Regions from separate parts of the Homo sapiens genome. Here region 1 is linked to region 2. The links are contacts of gene promoters, found by promoter capture Hi-C in human tissues and cell types (Jung and others, 2019). All regions are on one chromosome and are shown on one strand. The core of a region is centred on a gene start or on the middle of the fragment in contact, and the rest is flanking DNA. Distances in the headings are between cores, read along the strand shown. Region 1 overlaps ZNF569 (zinc finger protein 569). Region 2 holds the start of ZNF382 (zinc finger protein 382).

Region 1 (5,165 bases), core at 2,570-5,069, 850 kb after region 2:
TATCTCCAGCAACAGGGTATCCTGAATCTCCCTACTAGCTTCACTAGTCTTGTTTCATGTTCTCTCAGGATGCAACAGCCTTTACAATTAGTTTCTGATTTCTCACAAACAGAATTTGTCTGTGAATTGTTGCTGAATTAGTATTTTGGGAAGGTGAGGAAGGGTCCAAGTCTTCCTACACCACCATCTTGCTGATGTCACCCCCCACTCCTTCATTTTGAAGGGGTATTTTTGCTTGGTGTGAAATCCTGGATTGACAGTTTTTCTGCACTTTAAAAATGATTCTCCCTTGTCTTCTTGCTTGCATGGTCTCTGATAATAGATCTGCTATATGTAATTCTTATTCTTGTTCCTCAATAGACAATTTTTTTCTTGTTATCTTCAAGATTTTCCTTTTATTTTTAGTTTCCAGCAGTTTAAATATAATATGTGTAGATGTGTTTTAAAATTTTGTTTTGGTATTTATCTCTGAGCTTCTTGGACCTATGGTTTCGTGTCACTAACTTGGAAAATTCTCAGCCATCATTTATTTAAATACTTTTCTTCCATCTCTGCTCCAATTACCCATCAGGTCCATTTCATATAAGTCATAGTTATCTTAAATTCCTGTTGGGTTGTTGCAATACCTATGTCATAACTAAGTCAGTTATGATTATTGCTTTGTCTCTTTGAAGTATGTTTTTTCTTTTTCTTCTTGCCTTTTTATATGCCTCATAATCTTCATTGAAGGCTGTACATCTTGGATAGTACAGTAGATATGAAGGTTAAGAAGTTTTTACACTTAAACATGAGTATGTCTTTTCTTCTGCTAGGTTTTTAACATGGGGGGTTATGCTGGTCTATTCAATAGCTGGACAGGGTTTGAGGTTTGTCATTGCTGTGGTTACACTGAGTGTACCCCAGGCTTCAATAATATCCTCTAATAATATCTGTGTTTAAGGTAAGGGTTGATTTCCCATGGTTGTTTTCTCAATGCATGTTTCTCCCTTAGTTTTGGGTGTTCCATTTGTGCTGCTCCCCAGAGAGAATCTCTCTTGCAGGCTTCCTAGCTGTACTCTACTATTGCTTCTATTTGATTCTTGTTATCTTGGTGGGGGTTGAGTAGACGGAGGGATAGCATTCTCTTATGATCTCACTAAGCCTCAGTCTTAGGCAGACACCATATCCCTAAGTCTTGGGGATGTGGCCTTCACAAGTGCTCTTGCCGCTCTGCCAGCTGTAGTGCTAGTCCTAGAGCATATTCCTCCCCTACTCCCAGAGATATTACTTTTTTTCAGGTCCCTTTCCTAAACTGCAATAGCTTTCTACAAGTCTCCTAAGGCAACTGTTTTTGCTGCTCTTCATTATGCAGTGATAGGGAAGATGGGTTTGGGCTGCTGTTGCCCTCCCCCAGCTAACACCACAAGGAAAGGCTTCTCAGGATTCACTCCCATCTTCCCTATGAGTGCCTGTTGGGATTCCCAGAGGAAAAGCCTACAAGAGACTGCAACCCCCACCTCCCTAATTTTGCAAGTCCCCCAGTGGTTTCACACTTTCATTAGCTGACATTCACACTTTAAAAATTTGTTTAAAAACTTGATAGCTGTATTTTCTTACTGGCTTATATGGTGTCTGGCAGAGTCCATCCCAGGTAAGTAAAGCTTGAGTCCTGTTTCTCTCAGCTGGCATCTTTCTTTCCCCAGATTTAAGATTACTTGGTTGCCCTGTGACCTCAGTTCTCTGAAGGGTCCTAGAAAAATTATTTTGTAGTTTGTCCATTTCCTTGTTGTACGGTAGAAGTTTGTAGTTTCCTTGTTGTAATGATTGAAGCAAAGTTCTTTCCAGCTGTTTACATCCCTAAGGAGAAACCCAAAGTCCCCTCATTACAATAAACTTTTGAGAAGTCCTTCAGTTTATTTTGTCATGGGGCTCAAAAATACCTTGCAAATAAAGTTAGGATTAGGATAACAGTTTAAAGTCAAGTAAATTAGCTAGGATGGAGTGGGAGTGGGAAAGCATTACAAGCAAAGCAGTAGCAATTGGTAAGGCCTCAGAAAAGACGGAATTCAGTATACTGGAGGAACTCAACTTTAAGCTAATTGAGGAAATACTTTAGAAATAAATTCACAAACTAAATGTTATATTCATAACAAATGTTATTTTTCTTTCCACTGCAAAGAACTTACTTCCAGCCATATCAATTTGTTTAGTTTCTGGACTATCATGCATGATTCCCTCCTGAAATGAGCTCTGATACAGTTAAAATGCTTACAGCAACTGCCATATCTACATAATAATATATATTTTTTAACACTCCACTTGCTTGAATCCACGTTTTGCCAAAAACCTAAAACTCATTGAAAGCTCTACACCTGGCAGCATCTCTCAAGGCAGAAATTCTCTAGTTAGCGTGAACTAACTCACAGACTGGGGATATGGCTCTGTGGTGGACAACAGTATTTTCTCCCCCACCCCCAACTCTTTCCTAGTCTTCTCTCCACTATTTCCATGTGTCCCCGGATTCCAGGTCCTACCACACCACTTTGCAACACATGTTTAAATCACAAGGGAAAAGGGCCAATGACACATGAAAGAAGGATATAAGGGCTGGACCCACTTATATAAGGGCACCCACTGATGGCTGGAAGAACAGCATTAAACTCTGTGGGTACCGCTCTATCTGGGATCTAAAGTTGCCAAAGCCAGTTGCAACTACAGGAATCAAAAATTTAATTTCTCAAAAGCTTCTTTACTTTGTTTTCTCTTTAATTTGGTTGGCATGTTTGAAAACATTTTTATTCTACTCTCATACTCAAATAATAATTTGGCTAACTGTAGGCTTCTCAGAAAAACAGTTTTTCCTTAGAAATTTAAAGCAATGTGACTTCACTTTGTGGCTCCAGTGACTTCTAGTGTTGCTGTACATTGACATTCTACTTCTAGATCATTCCAACTTTTTTTTTCCTCTGTAGAAAGTTTTTGGCCTTTCTTCTCTCTTATTGGTTTCCGATAGTTGGTGTGGGTTTTTCTCATTAATCGCACTGAGCTTTTGGTCAGTATATATCACGGACATACGGTCATTTCAATCCGTATATTTATTGTTCTCTTCTAGGAAATTTTCTTGCACGTTTTTGTTTTCATTTTCTCTACTTTCTCTTACGTATAATTCCTAAGAATAGGATGATCTATCCCTTAAACTGATCATCTAAGTGTCTTATATTTTATCTCTTAACATTTCTACTTCTCTCTTAGGGCCCGTATGTTTGAGAAGGAAGCTCCCACTTATGTTAGTTAAACATTAAGTCACAGAGCTCTCCATTAAGAAAACTTTTTCTTTAGACAGGGAGTTGAAGCTTCATAAAACAGTTTAACTGCCTCCTACTTTCCTTCCCTCTAGTTCACTCTAAACATACTTGTATGTATACATTCTAGAAATTTTCTTCCAAAATTTATTACTTTTAAAAACTCGAGGCCAGGCACAGTGGCTCACACCTGTAATCCCAGCACTTTGGGAGGCTGAGGTGGGCGGATCACAAGGTCAGGAGTTCGAGATTGGCCTCGCCAACATAGTGAAACCTCACCTCTCCTAAAAATACAAAAAATTAGCTGGGCATGGTGGCAGGCGCCTGTAATCCTAGCTACTCAGGAGGCTGAGGCAGGAGAATCGCTTGAACCCAGGAGGCGGAGGTTGCAGTGAGTCTAGATCGCGCCATTGCACTCCAGCCTGGGCAACAGAGGGAGACACCGTCTCAAAAAAAAAAAAACAAAAAACAAAAAACACAAAACTCAAACTACAAAAATGTTGGAAGATCAGTACAAAGAATACTTCTAAAACCCTTAATCTATATTCAGCATTGCCACATTTTTCTACCTCTCTTTCCTTCTCTAAAAACATATACACAAACTTCACGTTAACTCTTTCAGAATGTACCTCCAAAAACTAAGAAGCCTCCTACATAAACACAATGCCATTATCACACCAAAGATATTAAACATTCGTACAATAAAATATATTATCTCTATACTTCCCTAGTTGTCGCAACAATATCCTTTAAAACCAATTTTAAAATAAATTGAGGATTTAATCGAGAATTCTATACTTATAAAATGCATCTTAAGTAACACTCCCCTGTTTAAACTTCTTTTTTTCCCCTTGCCCAAAATTTACTGGCTTATGGTAACAGAGAAACTGAGGTATGTGGAAATATGAAAGAAAAAGAGAGTGATGGAATGTGGAATTGGTATATAATGTTTAAGAATAAACAAAATAACCATGGAATACTATGCAACCATAAAAAGGATAAGTTCATGTCCTTTGTAGGGACATGGATGAAGCTGGAAACCATCATTCTGAGCAAACTATCGCAAGGACAGAAAACCAAACACCACATGTTCTCACTCATGGATGGGAACTGAACAATGAGAACACTTGGACACAGGATGGGGAACATCACACACTGGGGCCTGTCATGGGGTTGGGGGAGGGGGGAGGGATAGCATTAGGAGATATACCTAATGTGAATGACGAGTTAATGGGTGCAGCACACGAACATGGGACATGTATACATATGTAACAAACCTGCATGTTGTGCACATGTACCCTAGAACTTAAAGTATTAAAAAAAAGAATAAACAAAATAAAACTGGAAAATCTTAGATATTTTTATATTCTTTTTTTTTGGAGACAGAGTCTCGCTCTGTTGCCCAAGCTGGAGGAGCGCATGGCTCGCTGCAGGCTTCATCTCCGAGATTCAAGTGATTCTCCCATCTCAGCCTCCCAAGTAGCTGGGACCACAGGCATGCACAACCATGCCTGGTTAATTTTGATATTTTTGGTAAAGATGGGGTTTTGCCATGTTGCCCAGGCTGGTCTTGAACACTTGGGCTCAAGTGATCTGCCCACCTTGGCCTCCCAAAGTGCTAGGATTATAGGCCTGAGCCACCATGCCCAGCCTGATATTTTTATATTCTTTATGGAGTCCTTTTTAAAAAGTGTATTTTATTTTAGATTCAAGGGGTACATGTGCTTGTTTGTTACATGAGTATTACCTTAAATTACTTCAATGACAACTTTTATAATTTTGTTTCTGAATACCTCATTAGCTTCATCTTTCACTCCTTGAAAGTAAACTCCAGCCATACATAATTACATACCTTTCTTAAAATATACAAAGCATTGCTCCTTA
Region 2 (4,657 bases), core at 276-2,775:
GGGACTGAAATGTTTCTGTATTCACAATAATTTCCTTTAGACAGCTATGAAAATGCTGTGGATCTGCAATATTCAACTTGCCCCCACAGAGCTTCCAAAAGGGATCTTTTGGCTAGGCACGGTGGCTCACGCCTGTAATCCCAGCACTTTGGGAAGCCGAGGCGGGTGGATCACCTGAGGTCAGGAGTTCGAGACCAGTCTGACCAACATGGTGAAACCCCGTCTCTACTAAAAATACAAAAATGAGCCGGGCATGGTGGTGCATGCCTGTAATCCCAGCTACTCGGGAGGCTGAGGCAGGAGAATTGCTTGAACCCGGAAGGCGGAGGTTGCAATGAGCCGAGATTGCGCCACTGCACTCCAGCCTGGGCAACAAGAGCAAAACTCCATCTCACACACACACACAAAATCTTTGGAGAAACGAATCCTACTCCTGGGGCCTCAATATCATATCTTCCCAGAACCTTGCCTTGGGAGCAATTCCAGCTCTAACATCTCCATATCAAACACGAGGCTGTGCATATCAGAACACAGCCTTGTCCATGTGAAACACAAGGCTGTGCTTTTTCAGTTGGAAACTTCATTCTGGATCTCAAATATCCAACTTTCTTTTCGATAGCCATTTGACTGCACACTGTGCAACGTGGTTATAAGGTGAAATGACTGAGGCAGTGAAAGAAATCCCAGTATAACAAACTCCAAGAAACCACGTAACTTAAAATTGGCCCCAGAGGTTGGCGAGGCTGCATGCCACTGTGTATTATGCATTATGAAAGCGACAGGGGCCATGCTTTAGAACAGAAGGTCTCAGAGTCTTCACAGACACAGATCGAGCCATACGGGGACCTTGTCCACGTATTCCTGAGCCCCAGAACTGCAGAAATCAAACTCTACAAAAGCTGCACCAGGCCAGTTTTGATCACAGTCTCCAGTGGGTCACAACAGCGCTGTCACAGGATCACTGATAACAGCATGACACATTCATAGTCACCGCTCAGCGCCGTCACACAAACGGCCCCGCCCCCACTCAGTCCCGCGGGCCCAATCGGGGACAGTCAGGGCTGTCCCGGGCTGTGCACCTGCTGTGCACACACACCCCCTGCTGTGCACACCCCCCGCCCCCCCGGGACCATCACAGGCGCGCCCACTCACACCACCACACACGGACGCAGCCACAGAACGGCACACACAAACACAATCACACAGTCTCCCTCCCCAGCAGGTGACTTGCACACAGGCCTGGGGCTTCTGCCTCCACAAACCCTCTCCGCGTCCCATGAACCCAGGTCCCCTGCCGTGAGCTCTTCTCGCATCCAGACCCGGGTCACCTCAACTCACCACATGGAAAACGAACACCAGGTCAACGGAAAAGGGAGCCGGGGTCCTGGCAGAAGCGTAGTGCCAGCCGCAATAGGGCGGCCGTGGGTGCAAACGGAGGGGAGCGCCGGCAGCTAGCACCGCGCGGCGACTAACGGGCCGCCCCGGAGACTCCTGGGAGCTCAGGCCCACGCGCGAGTGCGCAGGCGCAGACGACTCACCCTGGGCCGGGGGTGAGGCTTGGTGGGTGCCAGGGGTGCTGAGGAGGCCAAGGAGGGCACTGGGAGCTCCGTTCCGGGAGAGCTGTCTAAGGACGCGGAACCGGGTGGGGAGGCCAGGGAGGTAACCAAGAGTCCGAGCCGGGCCTGGAAATTCTGAGGAGGAAACCGGGACCGCGGTATCCAGACGCTCCGATCTGTACGAGCCGGGCCTCGGGCGTGGTCCATGGGCGTGACCTTGAGGGTGACCCGGAGCGAGCTCCGCGAAGGGGGATTTTGCCCGTTCTGATCCCGCGGAAGCGCCATCGCTGGCGGCGGGTCCCCGCGCGGAGCGGGCGCTGTGTGTTCGCGCGCGCGGGCGCGCGCTGAATAGGGGTGGCCTCCTGCGCCCAACCTGCTGCATTTTAGGTGCTTGCCTCTCTTTGGGATGTTGTGGCCGATTGTGTGTGAAAAGTGAACGGAGTAGTGTTGCTGCGCGAGGTTTCCTCTGCGTGTGTCTATTTTTAGATTAGGTGTGAGTCGCATTTGAGACTGCCTTTGAGTGTGGAGAATTGCAAGTGATTTGTAGGTGTGGTTGTGACTGCCTGGAGTCGTGTTAGCTGCTGTCTGAGGTTGTGAATGACAAGTGGGGCCTGTAGGTTGGTGGTTCTCTGAAGGATGTTTGATTGACTGTGACTCTGCATGTGTTTGTAACCTACTGTTACTTCTGGTGGTTTTGTGGCCTTAGTGACCTAAATATTTGAATGATTGAGGAACTCTGTTATGACCATGGCTAGTTGGTTATGTAAGACTTGATTATCTGAATAGTAGCCATTAAGCCTGCCTCCAAAACTGTAACTAAGTAGCAATTTAGCAAATAAAATAGAGATAACAGTATCAGAGGGGAAGAGATGATTTTCATAATTCCCAGATTCATTTCCTGGAAACACCATATTAACTAAAACCAGTATGTTGAAATGAATAGCATTCCATTGGGGACATGCAGGAAATTTTTTTTTTTTTTTTTTTTTTACCATAACTACCACTTTTGTTGTTGTTTTTTGTTTGTTTTAAGACAAGGTCTTGCTCTTTTGCCCAGGCTGGAGTGTAGTGGCATGATCTCTGCTCACTGCCACCTCTACCTCTGAAGTTCAAGTGATTCTCCTGCCCCAGCTTCCTGAGTAGCTGGGACTACAGGCTTGTGCCACCACGCTCGGCTAGTTTTTGTATTTTTAGTAGAGATGGGGTTTCACCATGTTGCCCAGGCTGGTCTTGAACTCCTGACCTCAAGTGATCCCCTCCCCCCGCCCCCTCGGCCTGCCAAAGTACTGGGATTACAGGTGTGAGCCACTGTGCCTGGCATAACTACCACTTTCAACACTTGTATATGAGTGAGGTTTCCTACTCCCTTAGGCTTGCTAAGATAATAAAAAGTATTTGATAGATTTTTAATAAGTCCAGTCTCACTGTAGTAATTAAAATAGTTATTTTGCGGGCCTGGTGCAGTGACTGATGCCTGTAATCCCAGCATTTTGGGAGGCCAAGGTGGGCAGATCACCTGAGATCGAGAATTCGAGACCAGCCTGACCAACATGGAGAAACCCCATCTCTACTAAAAATACAAAATTAGCCGGGCATGGTGGTGCATGCCTGTAATCCCAGCTACTCAGGAGGCTGAGGCAGGAGAATCGCTTGAACCCGGGAGGTGGAGGTTGCGGTCAGTCAAGATTGTACCATTGCACTCCAGCCTGGGCAACAAGAGTGAAACTCTGTCTCAAAAAAAAAAAAAAAAAAGATTATTCTCAACTACAACATAGACCAGATAGGCAAAGATTTAAAAGTTGTCAACTGTCTTCATCAGGGCTTGGGAAGGTATTCTCATCCACTACTATCAGTGTAAATTGGCAAAAAGTCCAAGAAGAACCGTTTGGAAATACACAGTAAACCTGTGGTTAGAGGTAGATGGAAGGCAGAGCTGCAGAGGGAAAAACACAGTGTTCCCTCTCTTCAAGCTAAAACAGGTTCCCCAGAATCCTGTATACTTTACCAAGAGACTGGGTTTCTGGTGTTTGTGAGGGAGCCTGATTTGTCTGTTTTCCCACTAACTACCATCCTGGACATCTGAAGGGTACACAGGGTGGACAAGTGCTGAAATAGTGAACATTCATGCAGATTTAACTGAGTTAATTCTGGGAGTTCTGAGTCAAGTATGGTCTCACATACGTATATCCTCCATCTTTGCTTTCTCAGGACTGTTTCTTTTTCCAAAAGAGGAGCTCAAAAGAGAAAGTTCATCTAGAAATCTCAAAGCCATGTCTCAGGTGAGATGATGTTTCCTCTCTTTCTGAAATAACTTTTTTTCATGGTGTATGAACATGAGCTTCACTGTCCTTTAACCTTCCCTGATATTGGGATTTGCTTCCATGAAATTAGTCTTCAGTCAGGGCCAGATTAGGCTGAGGCAGGCAAGTGGCATGAGGTGAAATATTTAAGGGGTACCCTCAGGGCTGTGCCCTCCTAAATTTTGCATTCTAGGTGCCTCACCTGCCTCACCCTGTATCCAGCCCTGTTCACAATTTCTCCATTCCAACCAAATCAACTTAAGCCTTCCCCAAGTGTACCTTCTGGTTGTACATATTCATTGGGTATATCATTCATCATCTCCTTTCTCAGTCTTCTCACAAACAAACTGCTGGAATAGAAAGGTATTGTCTTGATTTAAATGGGAATATATGGCTTGAATGAATTTAACTTGTCCTGATGCTGATTTGAGACCTAAGCTGTGAGTAGTCATGGAGCAGACGTGGAAAAACCTTGATGATCTCCGCTAGCCTAGGTTTTGCAATGGTACGTTGGGAAATAGAAGTGGTAGATCCCAGCATTAGTTTCTGGAAAGATGTCCTGCTTTGTGAGGTGTTTAGGATAGCAATTTGATTGCAGGCTTGTAAAGGAAACACGTTTTATGTTCCTCCTCTCTGATCTTTTTTCATTCATGTCTGCTAGCCATTCCTACAAATTGTGGGCTGCCAGTGAAAACCTTTCCAGTATTCCAATGCTGTTAGAGATTTGTTATTTTCTTTTTAGTTTCTTCTAATTTTTTATTTGCGGGTGCAGGAGAAGGAAATCCATATGCCAGGCCACTT

What was found. Contacts are between HindIII fragments. The study calls those that stand out against the background at their distance.
Region 1: a contact is called between a fragment that was not itself captured here and the fragment with the promoter of ZNF382 in region 2, in 1 of the 25 tissues and cell types used here (hippocampus).

What each region holds. Positions count from the first base shown.
Region 1 is chr19:37,453,238-37,458,402 of GRCh38, forward strand. All of the region lies in intron 2 of ZNF569 (zinc finger protein 569), which reads right to left. Among named protein-coding and RNA genes, the nearest start is that of ZNF569, 12 kb to the right of the region's middle. The HindIII fragment of the contact is 6,345 bases long and covers 648-5,165 here.
Region 2 is chr19:36,603,788-36,608,444 of GRCh38, forward strand. It overlaps ZNF382 (zinc finger protein 382), which reads left to right and starts at 1,526. Exons shown (of 5, transcript NM_032825.5): 1 at 1,526-1,560; 2 at 3,765-3,835. It also overlaps a transcript of ZNF529 not described here. RefSeq lists enhancers at 798-937, 1,918-1,977 and a silencer at 1,498-1,557. The HindIII fragment of the contact is 9,037 bases long and covers 1-4,657 here.